Linked DNA regions of Homo sapiens: region 2 is linked to region 1. The links are contacts of gene promoters, found by promoter capture Hi-C in blood cells and fetal thymus (Javierre and others, 2016). All regions are on one chromosome and are shown on one strand. The core of a region is centred on a gene start or on the middle of the fragment in contact, and the rest is flanking DNA. Distances in the headings are between cores, read along the strand shown.

The links. Contacts are between HindIII fragments. The CHiCAGO score rates a contact against its expected background, and 5 or more counts as called.
Region 2: the fragment with the promoter of NAA25 here is called in contact with the fragment with the promoter of FAM216A in region 1 in 1 of 17 cell types (fetal thymus); the score reaches 5.6 in fetal thymus.

What each region holds. Positions count from the first base shown.
Region 1 is chr12:110,466,502-110,472,181 of GRCh38, forward strand. FAM216A (family with sequence similarity 216 member A) reads left to right here and starts at 2,344. Exons shown (of 7, transcript NM_013300.3): 1 at 2,344-2,517. The coding sequence starts at 2,375. It overlaps GPN3 (GPN-loop GTPase 3), which reads right to left and starts at 1,756. Exons shown (of 8, transcript NM_016301.4): 1 at 1,655-1,756. The coding sequence starts at 1,702. It overlaps LOC124903016 (a long non-coding RNA gene), which reads right to left. Exons shown (of 3, transcript XR_007063459.1): 2 at 4,138-4,315; 3 at 3,788-3,950. RefSeq lists enhancers at 1,868-1,997, 2,918-3,087 and a silencer at 2,408-2,717. The HindIII fragment of the contact is 771 bases long and covers 1,960-2,730 here.
Region 2 is chr12:112,105,425-112,111,104 of GRCh38, forward strand. NAA25 (N-alpha-acetyltransferase 25, NatB auxiliary subunit) reads right to left here and starts at 3,359. Exons shown (of 24, transcript NM_024953.4): 1 at 3,292-3,359. The coding sequence starts at 3,349. RefSeq lists an enhancer at 1,027-1,528 and silencers at 3,129-3,208, 3,229-3,308. The HindIII fragment of the contact is 1,965 bases long and covers 2,327-4,291 here.

The sequences.
Region 1 (5,680 bases), core at 1,094-3,593:
TGTATCTTTTTTTTTTTTGCAAAGGGTCTCACTGTCACCCAGGCTGGAGTGCAGTGGCACCATCATAGCTCACTGCAGCTTTGACCCAGGCTCAAGCGATTCTCCAGCCTTAGCCCCCCGAGTAGGTGGGACTATAGGCTCTCGCCACCATGCCCAGCTAATTTTTGTATTTTTGGTAGAGACAGGGCTTCACCATGGTGCCCAGGCTGACCCTGAACTCCTGGGCTCAAGTGATCTGCTGGCCTCAGCCTCCCAAAGTGCGAGGATTACAGGCTTAAGCCACCACACCTGGCCACATCACACTGTATCTTAATTGACAGGTCATCTATTTGTCTTCCCCAAAAGACTACAGACTCTGGGTAAGTTAAAGGCCATAGGTATCTTAGTTACATGTACATGTTTTTACCCAGAATAAGTCAACAGCTTAGAACAATGTGTTTGTTAAAGACTGAGGCCACACAACACCTCCACAGACTCTAGTGTTTCCACACTTCTTCTTTTTTTTTTTTGCGACAGTACCTCTGTCACCCAGGCTGGAGTGCAGTGGCACGATCACCACTCACCACAGCCTCAACCTCCTGGGTTCAGGTAATCCTCCCACTTCAGCTTCCCGAGAAGCTGGGACTAGAGGTACCTGCCACCAGGCCTGGCTAATTTTTGCATTTTTTTGTAGAGACAGAGTTTCGCCGTGTTGCCAAGGCTGGTCCCAAACTCCTGGGCTCAGGCGATCCGTCCACCTCCATCTCCCAAAGTGATAGGATTACAGACGTGAGCCACCACGCCTGGCTATGTTTCCCACACATATGTTATTTGATCCATATCTTCACCATTCTCACTGTATTTGAATGTTCCTAACATTCCCTTAATATTTGTTTACAAGAAAAAATTTTATCCCTACTGTAAACTGAAAACCACTTATATTTGACATAACGTGAAATTAGACATAAAATTATATAAAATCTTTAAATGTTCTATTTTTAGCTAAATACAGGTGCCTATTAAAAGCTCTGAGACTAAGAACTGCTCTCTGAAAAGACCTGGGGATTAAAGAAGTGCTGAAGATACACACTAGCACCGAGCACAACTTCTCCTAAATGCGAAGTTGAGAACTGAAAGAGAAATGAAAAGGGAACAATTTCCCTAACACATTATCTGATGCTCCTTAATGTGGGGTCCATGTACCACCTACCACCTAAAAGCACCTTAAATACCAAAAGTCCATGTCCCAAGTTCTGAGAAACAGTAATTAATGAGACCCCACTTTACCCTCCTGGGAGCGAGACAGGGCCGGATTCTGGAGTTGAGACAAAACTGGATTTATATTTTTTTGCGGGGCAAAGAACTTAATTAACCTTTCTGTATCTCGTTTTCTGTAAAATGAGAAAAATGAGATCTCTCTCACAGGGTTGTTGTAGAAATAAGCGAGGCGTTTCATCTGCTGCCTGGGGCTTAAGTATACAATAAATATTAACAACTACCATTATTTCCCTTTCAAAACAACAACAAAAAAGAACGTGAAGCCAGACAGCAGAAATGAGTTGCGTGGGGTCTCAGGGTTCCCAGTACACACACCCGCCGGCTCACTCCCTCAGGACCCAATCTCCCGCCTTCCACGAACTCCTACTTTTCTCTCCTTGTCCCCGCAGATCCTCACCTTCCCGCTGCCCGCGGGGCCCATGACCAGCTGCGCATACCGAGGCATGTTGGCTCCCGGAGCCGCCCGCCACACTCCCTTAGCCTTCGCGCGACGCCCACTGAGCTCCGGGAAAGTGAAGTGCGAACCAATCGCAATCCACATTCTTTCTACGCCTCCAGTTCTACCACACCTCCTACTACGGGGCAGCCCGCGGGCCAAATCCCGTGAGAAACGCGTCCTGAGAAAAAAGGGGAGGGGCGAGGGAGAGGATTTGCGCGTGCGCAAAAGTAGTTGATGGAAATCGGCCGTTGGGATGCTGTCTAAGCTTGGATACCTGAGTAATAACGGACAACAGATAAAGCTCCGCATCCTTGCGCCACGTGCTTCGGTCCGTGGTTTGCGTGCAGACGTTTGACCTGTATGGTGACCCTCGCGATTTGCAAATGTGCTGAGGATCTGGAATACTGAAGTGGAAGGCACCTCTTGTTTTGGGGAGCATGTATATTTCCCTCCTGTGACGCACTGCTTCCACAGAGAGGTGCAAACGTGCAAACGCTCAGCGACCGCAGCGCTCCTGCCCCTCCCCCACCGTAACTCCGGGGTCGCGGATCTGCCCGCCCCGCTCTCCCGAAGCTGTTCGGGCAGTGTCCGAACGGCTTCGGAGGGGCGAGAAGCCAGCATCCGAGCCGCCTCTCCGGAATACCAGCAGCCTGACGCACGCGTGCTGTCGGGGGAGGGATGCTGGGACAGCTGCTCCCGCACACGGCTCGCGGTCTCGGCGCCGCGGAGATGCCCGGCCAGGGTCCGGGGTCCGACTGGACGGAGCGTAGCTCTTCTGCAGAGCCGCCCGCTGTGGCCGGGACCGAGGGTGGCGGCGGCGGGTGAGGTTGGGGGCCCCGGGGTAAGGGTGGCAGCATGGGGCCCCCGGGTCGTGAGGCCCCCGGGTCGTGAGCCCCGTGGAGGAGGGCTGCGGCCGACCTCTCGTCTCGGGGGCTGGCCCCGGTGCCCTCAAGTGAGAGGCGGGGAGCAGTTTTGTTGTGGACAGAGGGCAGAGGGGAGGACTGCCTCGCGGTTGAGGGAGGGTCTCTGAGGGAAGCTTCGGAGGAGCGTTTGGTGCAGTGGCCACGAGGTGACTGCGACAGTCGCCCGCGTGCATCTCTCTGCCCCGAGGGGGCGCTGCGAGCCCTGCTGGGACGTTTGCTGTCTGGCACAGGACTGTGTGTCCACCGAAAGGCGAGGCGGGAGGGACAGAGGAGGAAGATGTCCCCCGGTTCAACTGGGGGCATCCAGGCCCATAAACCAGTTCCTTCCCTCTAGTGACATGAGCCACCTTCCTGTCAAACGGGGATTTCTTTTTCTTTTTTTTTCTTTTCTTTCTTGTTTTTTGAGAGCGAGACAGTCTCGCTCTGTTGCCTAGGCTGGAATGCGGTGGTGCGATCTCAGCTCACTGCAACCTCAGCCTCCCAGGTTCAAGTGATTCTCCTGCCTCAGCCTCCCGAGTAGCTGGGATTACAGGCGCCTGCCACCACGCCCGGCTAATTTTTGTATTTTTAGTAGAGAGGTGGTTTCACCATGTTGGCTAGGCTTGTGTCGAACCCCTGACCTCAAGTGAGCCGCCCGCCTCGGCCTCCCAAATTGCTGGGATTACGGGGTGAACCATTGCGCCCGACCTCAAACGAGGATTTCTAATCGCCAATGAGACCAATGACTGAATATCCGAGGTGCCTTGATCTTGACATTTTCTTCACACTGAAGTTCCTTTTTTCACAAATCTATTTCGTTTTGAGCAGGTTTTTACACCTATTTCCTAGATAGTGAAGACAGCGAGCTGTTGAAGTCACTGCTGGAGACTCTACCTCCTCTTCCTCTCCCTACTTTATTCCCTAAAAGCAAGAACTGCGATATGTTTGCCGTTCAGTACAACCCGCAGTCAGGGCCCCTGTTGCACCCATGGCCATCCTTTTTGTTTTTTTTTTTTTGAGACAGAGTCTCGTTCTGTTGCCCAGGCTGGAGTGCAGTGGTGCCATCTCAGCTCACTGCAAGCTCCGCCTCCCGGGTTCACGCCATTCTCCTCCCTCAGCCTCTGGAGTAGCTGGGATTACAAGCGCCTGCCACCACGCCCGGCTACTTTTTTGTATTTTTAGTAGAGACGGGGCTTCACCGTGTTAGCCAGGATGGTCTCGATCTCCTGACCTCGTGATCCGCCCGCATGGCCGTCCTTTTTGTCTCTGGTGCTACTGAAGACTTCTTAAAGATGGGATGGAGTCTTGGGTTTCTTTTCTGTTCTTCACAGTCCTTGGCCGACTGCAGGATCCTGGTGTATCAGGAGATACGTGAATTTTTTTTTTTTTTTTTATTGAGACAGAGTCTCCCTCTGTCACCCAGGCTGGAGTGCAGTGTCACGATCTCAGCTAACTGCAACCTCCGCCTCCTGTGTTCAAGCAATTCTCCTGCCTCAGCCTCCCAAGTAGCTGGGACTACAGGTGTGCGCCACCACGTACCTGGCTAATTTTTGTATTTTTAGTAGAGATGGGCATGAGCCTGTAATCCTGGAAGGTTCTATTATGATCCCCACTTTATGGATGACAAAACAGGCACAAAGAGGTTGTTTGTCCTTTCCTTTTATCTCCGCCTGTCGTTCATCTCCATGCTTCCTTTAGTTTATCCAAACTCTTAAAACTACAATTAAAAAAAAAGACAGTATGCCCTTCAGTTTGGTTTAAGGAACCCCATTAAAAAACACAAACCAAGACTAATTTATGAAAAGCTTATATTCCCAGAAATACAAAATAAAATTTTCAAACTAGAATCAGGTTTATTATGCTACATGATACAATGTTGGCACTGGCAGGGGTCTTAAAAATCATCAATTCCGGTCATATTTACTAATCTGAAAGGGGAAGTGATCTGCCAAAAATCCCATTATTAACTAATGGGAACTCCGGAACTCCTTACTTTTTTTCTTCTTTTTTTTTGAGATGGAGTCTCGCTCTGTCACCCAGGCTGGAGTGCAGTGGTGTGATCTTGGCTCACTGCAACCTCCGCCTCCCAGGTTCAAGCGATTCTCCTGCCTCCTGAGTAGCTGGGACTACAGGCACGTGCCACTACGCCTGGCTAAGTTTTTGCATTTTTAGTAGAGAACGGGGTTTCACCATGTTAGCCAGGATGGTCTCGATTTCCTGACCTCGTGATCCACCCGCCTCGGCCTCCCAGAGTGCTGGATTACAGGCGGGAGCTACCGTGCCCAGCACTTTTTTTCTTTAAAGTCAGGTTTATTGAGGCATAATTTACACAAATTAAAGTCTTACTTTTTCATGTATAATATGATGGGTTTTGACAAATGCACATGGCTATGTAAGCACTGCCACACTAAAGATACAGAGCAGCTCTATCACTCCTTCAAAACTCCCTCATACCTTATAAAGTCAACCTTTGAGAAAGGAAGACACAGGAGGGTTGCCAGCAGAGAAGTGATGTGATCTTACTTTACTTAAAAAGGATCACGCTGGTTGCTAGTTGGAGAATAAACTAGAAGGAGCAAGCGTAGAATTAAGAAGTTGGAATACAAGAAAACGATATGGTGGCTTGGAATAAAATAGCAAAGGAAGCGGCGGTGAAAAGTTCATAACAAAAACTTTATAAACTTGGCGCCTGGCCCATGAACTCTTGGTCATTGAATAAATTGCAGGATGAGGATCAGTTGTTTTGTCTTAAGTTTAGAAAAGAAAAAGAATTTGTACGAAATTAGAAACATTACAGACCAACTTATTAGTTCTAGCACACCTTAATTACTATTCAAAGAACAGTCTTTCGGCATGGCGTGGTGGCTCACACCTGTAATCCCAGCACTTTGGGAGGCTGAGGCGGGCGAATCAGTTGAGGTCAGGAGTTTGAGACCGGCCTGGCCAACATGGCGAAACCTTGTCTGTACTAAAGATGGAAAAATTAGCCGGGCGTGGTGGCGGGCACCTGTAATCCCAGCTACCGGGAGGCTGAAGTGGGAGAATTGCTTGGACCTGGAAGGCGGAGGTTGCAGTGAACGGA
Region 2 (5,680 bases), core at 2,109-4,608, 1.6 Mb after region 1:
ATGGGTTCCAGTAAGGTCATGGGTGGAGGTTTTCAAAAACGAAAAATGCAATACCCAAACTTATTAGTAATGTGAGATGCACTGGGAAGATGTTTCAAATCTATGCACACAGAAAAGCTATTCCAACCCTAGACACCACCAGTAAAATTTCAACCCACCACAATTTATCACCACATAGCCCTGTCCACATATACCCTCAATGAATTCCAGCAAGAGCTGAGGCCCCAAGCAAGGTTTCCAACACAATTGTAAAATAAATCCTGAAACCTTGGCAGTACAAATACTGTTGTACAAAGACAGTGATGCTACTGAATCTGAACTTGGTGAAGAGCTGAGCTCTCAGTGAGAATGTCTATGTTCAAATCCCAGCTCTACAACTTGGTAGCTACAACCTTGAGCAAGTTAATCTCTAGGCTTCAGTTTGATCACAATAATCTTACCTACCTAATAGGGCAGTCAGCCCACCAGTAAACACTAATTAATGCTGATAGTTGTTGAATTTTTGGCTGGTGGGCAAGTACCACCATAGATGAGTTTGTTCATTTGTCAGAATGTCTGAATTCAAGGAACCATGGTTGTTTGGGGGTAGTAATGTATTTAAACAACAAAAGTGTGGAGTTCAAAAGTCAAATGTGCTTAAGTGCTGAATTCACGGACAGTCTGTACCGTTCTTTTCCTAGTCCTGCCAGTTTATACTAATCGCCTTAGAATTACTGAAGAAAGCCTCTTCTAATCCTCTTCCCATGTACATGTTACAAAAGCTACATAATTCTGACTTCAGTTTTGAGAATATAACTTGTTAATATATCCTGATGTTTAGTGATGTGAAATGGACATGGTGTTTCCCATTAGACAGTCAAAACACTATTAATTCTAAATAACTATGGGACCAAAGAAATTCTCTTTGGTCCTCAAGAACAATTTTAAAAATCAAATTATTCTTGAAAGTATTGAGTGTTTTTAGTTTAAAAAAAAAAAAGTCTGCAGGCAGCTGCTGCACAAAGCTGTAATGAGTCACAAACTATGAACCCTGGATTCAGTTCTCACCTTCCATCACCCACCTTGTATATATATCTCTGCCCTCTGAAAATATACACTGGAGGGCAAGGGCATGAGAATATGCAGCCCCGGGGAAATAGGAAATCAGAGTCCTTTCTCTGCCACTTACCATCTGTGTGACCTCAGGCAAATCAGTGTCTTCAGCTCAAAGTGAGGTAGTTTCTAGCACAGTGGTTAAGAAGGTGAGCCTGGGCCAGGCACAGTGGCTCACACCTGTAATCCCAGCACTCTGGGAGGCTGAGGCAGGACTGCTTGAGCTCAGGAGTTTTAGACTAGACTGGGCAACATGACGAAACCCATTCTCTACAATATATACAAAAATTAGCCGGCATGGTGGCGGGCACCTGTAATCCCAGCTACTCAGGAGACTGAGGCAGGAGAATCACTTGAACCCAGGAGGCGGAGGCTGGTTGCAGTGCACTGTGATTGTGCAACTGCACTCTAGCCTGGATGACAGAATGAGACTGTCTCCAAAAAAAAAAAAAAAAAAAAAAAAAAGGTGAGCCTGGAGCCAGGCATGGTGGCTCACACCTATAATCCCAGCACTTTGGGAGGCTGAGTAGGTCAAGAGTTCAAGTCCAGCCTGGCTAACATGGTAAACTCCTGTCTCTACTAAAAACATGGAAGTTCGCTGGGCCTGGTGGCGTGCAACTGTAATCTCAGCTACTCAGGAGGCTGAGGCAGGAGAATCGCTTGAACCTGGGAGGCAGAGGGTGCAGTGAACTGAGATTGTGCCACTGTACTCCAACCTGGACGACAGAGTGAGACTCATCTCAAAAGAAAAAAAAGGTGAGCCTGAAACAGTCCACAGGGGTTCAAATTCTAGCTCCAAGAAATACTAACTGAGTGGCCTTAGACAAATTACACAACAACAATAAAGCCTCAGTTTCCTCATCTGTTTTTTTTTTTGTTGTTGTTGTTGTTAAAGGGTTCAGGGGCAGGAAAAAACAGTAGCCACCTCTTGAGAATGGGTGAAGATTATATTAGATAACCCATATAAAAGGCCAAGGCCAGTGACTGTCATAATGAGTCATCTATAAACCTTAGCTATAGGATTGTTGCTAAAATCAAATGAGATGTGAGAGTAAAAAAAAAAATCACACAAATTATGAAATAAAAGCCGGACTAACTGTGGCCAGAAACAAAGTTAACCACCGCCCCCCGCTCCCAAAACGATTCCCACCTTGGAGAGAAGCCTCCAATTTAGTAACATCCACATGAGGTCTATAAATACGATGTCTACTTTTGTAAAAACCACTGACCTTGAAGCTTCCTCACCATTAAGTGAGATAGACCAAGACCATAAAACCATCTAAGAGGAAAGGAAATGCAAAAAGGACCAATCCAATTACACATTTCGGTTATTGGAAAAGGGTTTCTCCCAAACTCAAAATCTGTGATTTTTCACTACCAGGGTAAATGGATGAGATGACATCAAGGTCTTCAAGTCTGCGGGTTGAGGTAAGAGTTGTGGAGAGGGATCTGCTTAGCACAGGGAAGGAAAGCTGCAGAGAAAACCACAGAGAAGCTGCAGAAAGGAGAAGCCCTCCAGTAGCTCTGCATGCCCCTCTGACACGAGCTATCACAATCTCTTCACCGCTATTTTAGGCCCAAGACCCCCTCCCCCCGCCTCCCACGTGTGACCAGAGTAGCTGCTTCTCCACCCAACAGCTCTGGATTGGGAGCCTGGAATCTCGGGCCTGCTCCTGACTCGATCTGGGTGACCTTGCGTCAGCCCCTTCCCCACTCCGGACCTCAGTTTCTCCTATGCACCGAAGCCCACCTAGTCAGACAACCCTCTAGGCCCAATTCCCGTAAATAAAAAAAAATCTCTGGTAGGGAATCTTCCCTCAGGCAGGGCGTCCCACCCTCGTGCCGGAGCCGGCTTCCACCTTCGGGGAGATCTCCGGTCTCCCTAGGAGCGGCGGTAACGATGCAGCCTGCGGGTAGCGCAGGTGTCTGCAGAACCACGCGTCCCACGGGGCCTGCCAAGCAGGCCAGCTCTGCCGACCAGCTGCTGCCCAGACCGCGCCACTACCACCCCAAGGCTGAGGAAGGTTGGGCCGGCGCCTACGCGAGGCCCGCGGCTGCGGCCTAGTGGCCCGCGCGGCCCGCCCCCCTGCGCCTGCCCGGCCCGCGCGCCGGCCCTCAGCACCCCTCCTGGGCTTTCGCCCCAGCCTCGGCAGCCCTCGGCGCGTCGGGCTGGCGAGCGGGCTGGTCCAAGACACTCACCGTAAATGGGCCGGAGGCGCCTGTCGTTAGGGTCCTGCACATGGCCCCGCGTCGCCATGATGACAAGCGCAGAACCACAGTGCGCACGCGCGGGGCAGGACCCCGGGAAAGGGCTATTAAAGGGCCAGCGTCGATCTCGCTTGTCTATCACGATAGTCGCGGTGCTGCGACTGAACGCGCCTGCGCGGAAAGGGAAGCATCCACCCTTGCCGATTGCCACCTCTTTAAACGCTGTTCCTTCACTTAGCAGGTGGGATCAAGCTGGCAAGAGGAGGCAGCTGTTGCTGTTAAAGTCTTCCGAGTCACTGACTGGGAAGTTAGGAGAGGAGGGGAGAAAGCTCTCAAAGTTAGGGTTCGGCTGCTCCTGTTTATCCTATTTATTCTCCGTCCTGAAGAACCAGCTAGACTTGGCTGTGATTAATCGCAGAGGAACCAGAAACTCCCGGGGGAGAGAGACCCAGGGGAAAGTTGGGGAAGCGGGGCTGATCAACAGCAAAAATCTGCCAAAAAAGTTCGAGAGAGCCGGGCGCTGTGGCTCAGCCTGTAATCCCAGCACTTTGGGAGGCCGAGGCGGGCGGATCACAAGGTCAGGAGATCGAGACCATCCTGGCTAACACGGTGAAACCCCATCTCTACTAAAAATACAAAAAAAGTTAGCGGGGCGTAGTGGCGGGCGCCTGTAGTCCCAGCTACTCATGAGGCTGAGGCAGGAGAATGGCGTGAACCCAGGAGGCGGAGCTTGCAGTAAGCCGAGATCGCGCCACTGCACCCCAGCCTGGGCGACAGAGCGAGACTCCATCTCAAAAAAAAAAAAAAAAAAAGAAAAAAGTTCGAGAGCCCTCCACCACCTGTTCCTGGACCAAACTGAGCGTCAGGCTGCTGTTTCTCCTGGTTCAGTAAGGAGATGCAGATGAACTGGAGAGGAAGCGAGTTTTTATTTCTGCAACCAGTTACAGGGAGAAGGCCTGGAAATTATCACCAGACCAACTTAAAATTACAAAGCTTTCCAGAGCTTATATACCTTCTAAGCTATATGTCTACGTGTAAATGTGCATTCATCTAAAGACATAAGTGATTAACTCGCCGGGCGCGGTGGCTCATGCCTGTAATCCCAGCACTTTGGGAGGCCAAGGCGGGCGGATCACGAGGTCAGGAGATCGAGACCACGGTGAAACCCCATCTCTACTAAAAATACAAAAAATTAGCTGGGCGCAGTGACAGGCGCCTGTAGTCCCAGCTACTAGGGAGGCTGAGGCAGGAGAATGGCGTGAACCCGGAAGGCGGAGCTTGCAGTGAGCCGAGATCCCGGCACTGCACTCCAGCCTGGGCGAGGGAGGCTCCGTCTCAAAAAAAAAAAAATAATAATAATAATAATTGATTAACTCACTTTAGTCTATAACTAAGGTTTGAGTCCTGAAGACTTTCCTTTGAAGCCTCAGTAAATTTACTTAATCTAAATGGCAATAGGTGCTGGGGTGATTATCCTTATCTTGCCTCCTACTAAATCACGGAGGTTTGGGGAGTTACTTCAGACCCCCAATAAAATTTGTTTAATCCTAAATGGGTCCTGTTAGGAATTCTTTCGTTATTTTGTCATGCTTTAAGGCCAAGGAAAGGCCTAGGCAAAACTCTTGGTGGGCTTTTGTTACATTCCATCCTTTGTATAAGGGCACTGGCTTTTTTTTTTTAGCTTTTAATATGTAACTTAACCACTCAGTTAGTACTGAAACAGTTGTTATGGAGGCCTGTGTTAGTGAGACCTGGCCTGCCACACACCCTTCTCCCAGGACTCAGCCAACAAAGAAGCATCCTAGATGAATACTTACTCGGTATCTGCCTAGAGTATTTAAATGCAAGGTCTTTACATTTATTCTCTCATTTAATTTTCATAACTGTCATCGTATTTCCCTGGGAGGTAGATCTTATTATTACCTCTCTTTTTACAGATAGATTTATTCGTACAACACTGAGTTATTGAGTGCCTATTATTTGACACACTCTTGTTTTAGGCACAGAGGATACATCAATAAATAAAATAGACAGAGACTTAATGGAGTTTTTATTTGTAGTGAGGGAGACAGACAATAAATAAGTAGATAGCCTATTACATGGTGATAAATGCTACTGAGAAAAATAAAGCAGGAAAGGGGGGCAGTGAGAGAGGGAGGTAATTTTAAATAGTGTGGTAAGGCTGGCTTGGTGGCTCACCCCTGTAATCCCACCACTTTGGCAGGCCAAAGTGGGTGGATCACATGAGGTCAGGGGTTCAAGACAAGCCTGGCCAACATGATAAAACCCCTTCTCTGCTAAAAATACAAATATTAGCTGGGTGTGGTAGTGTGAGCCTGTAACCCCGGCTACTCAGGAGGCTGAGGCAGGAGAATCGCTT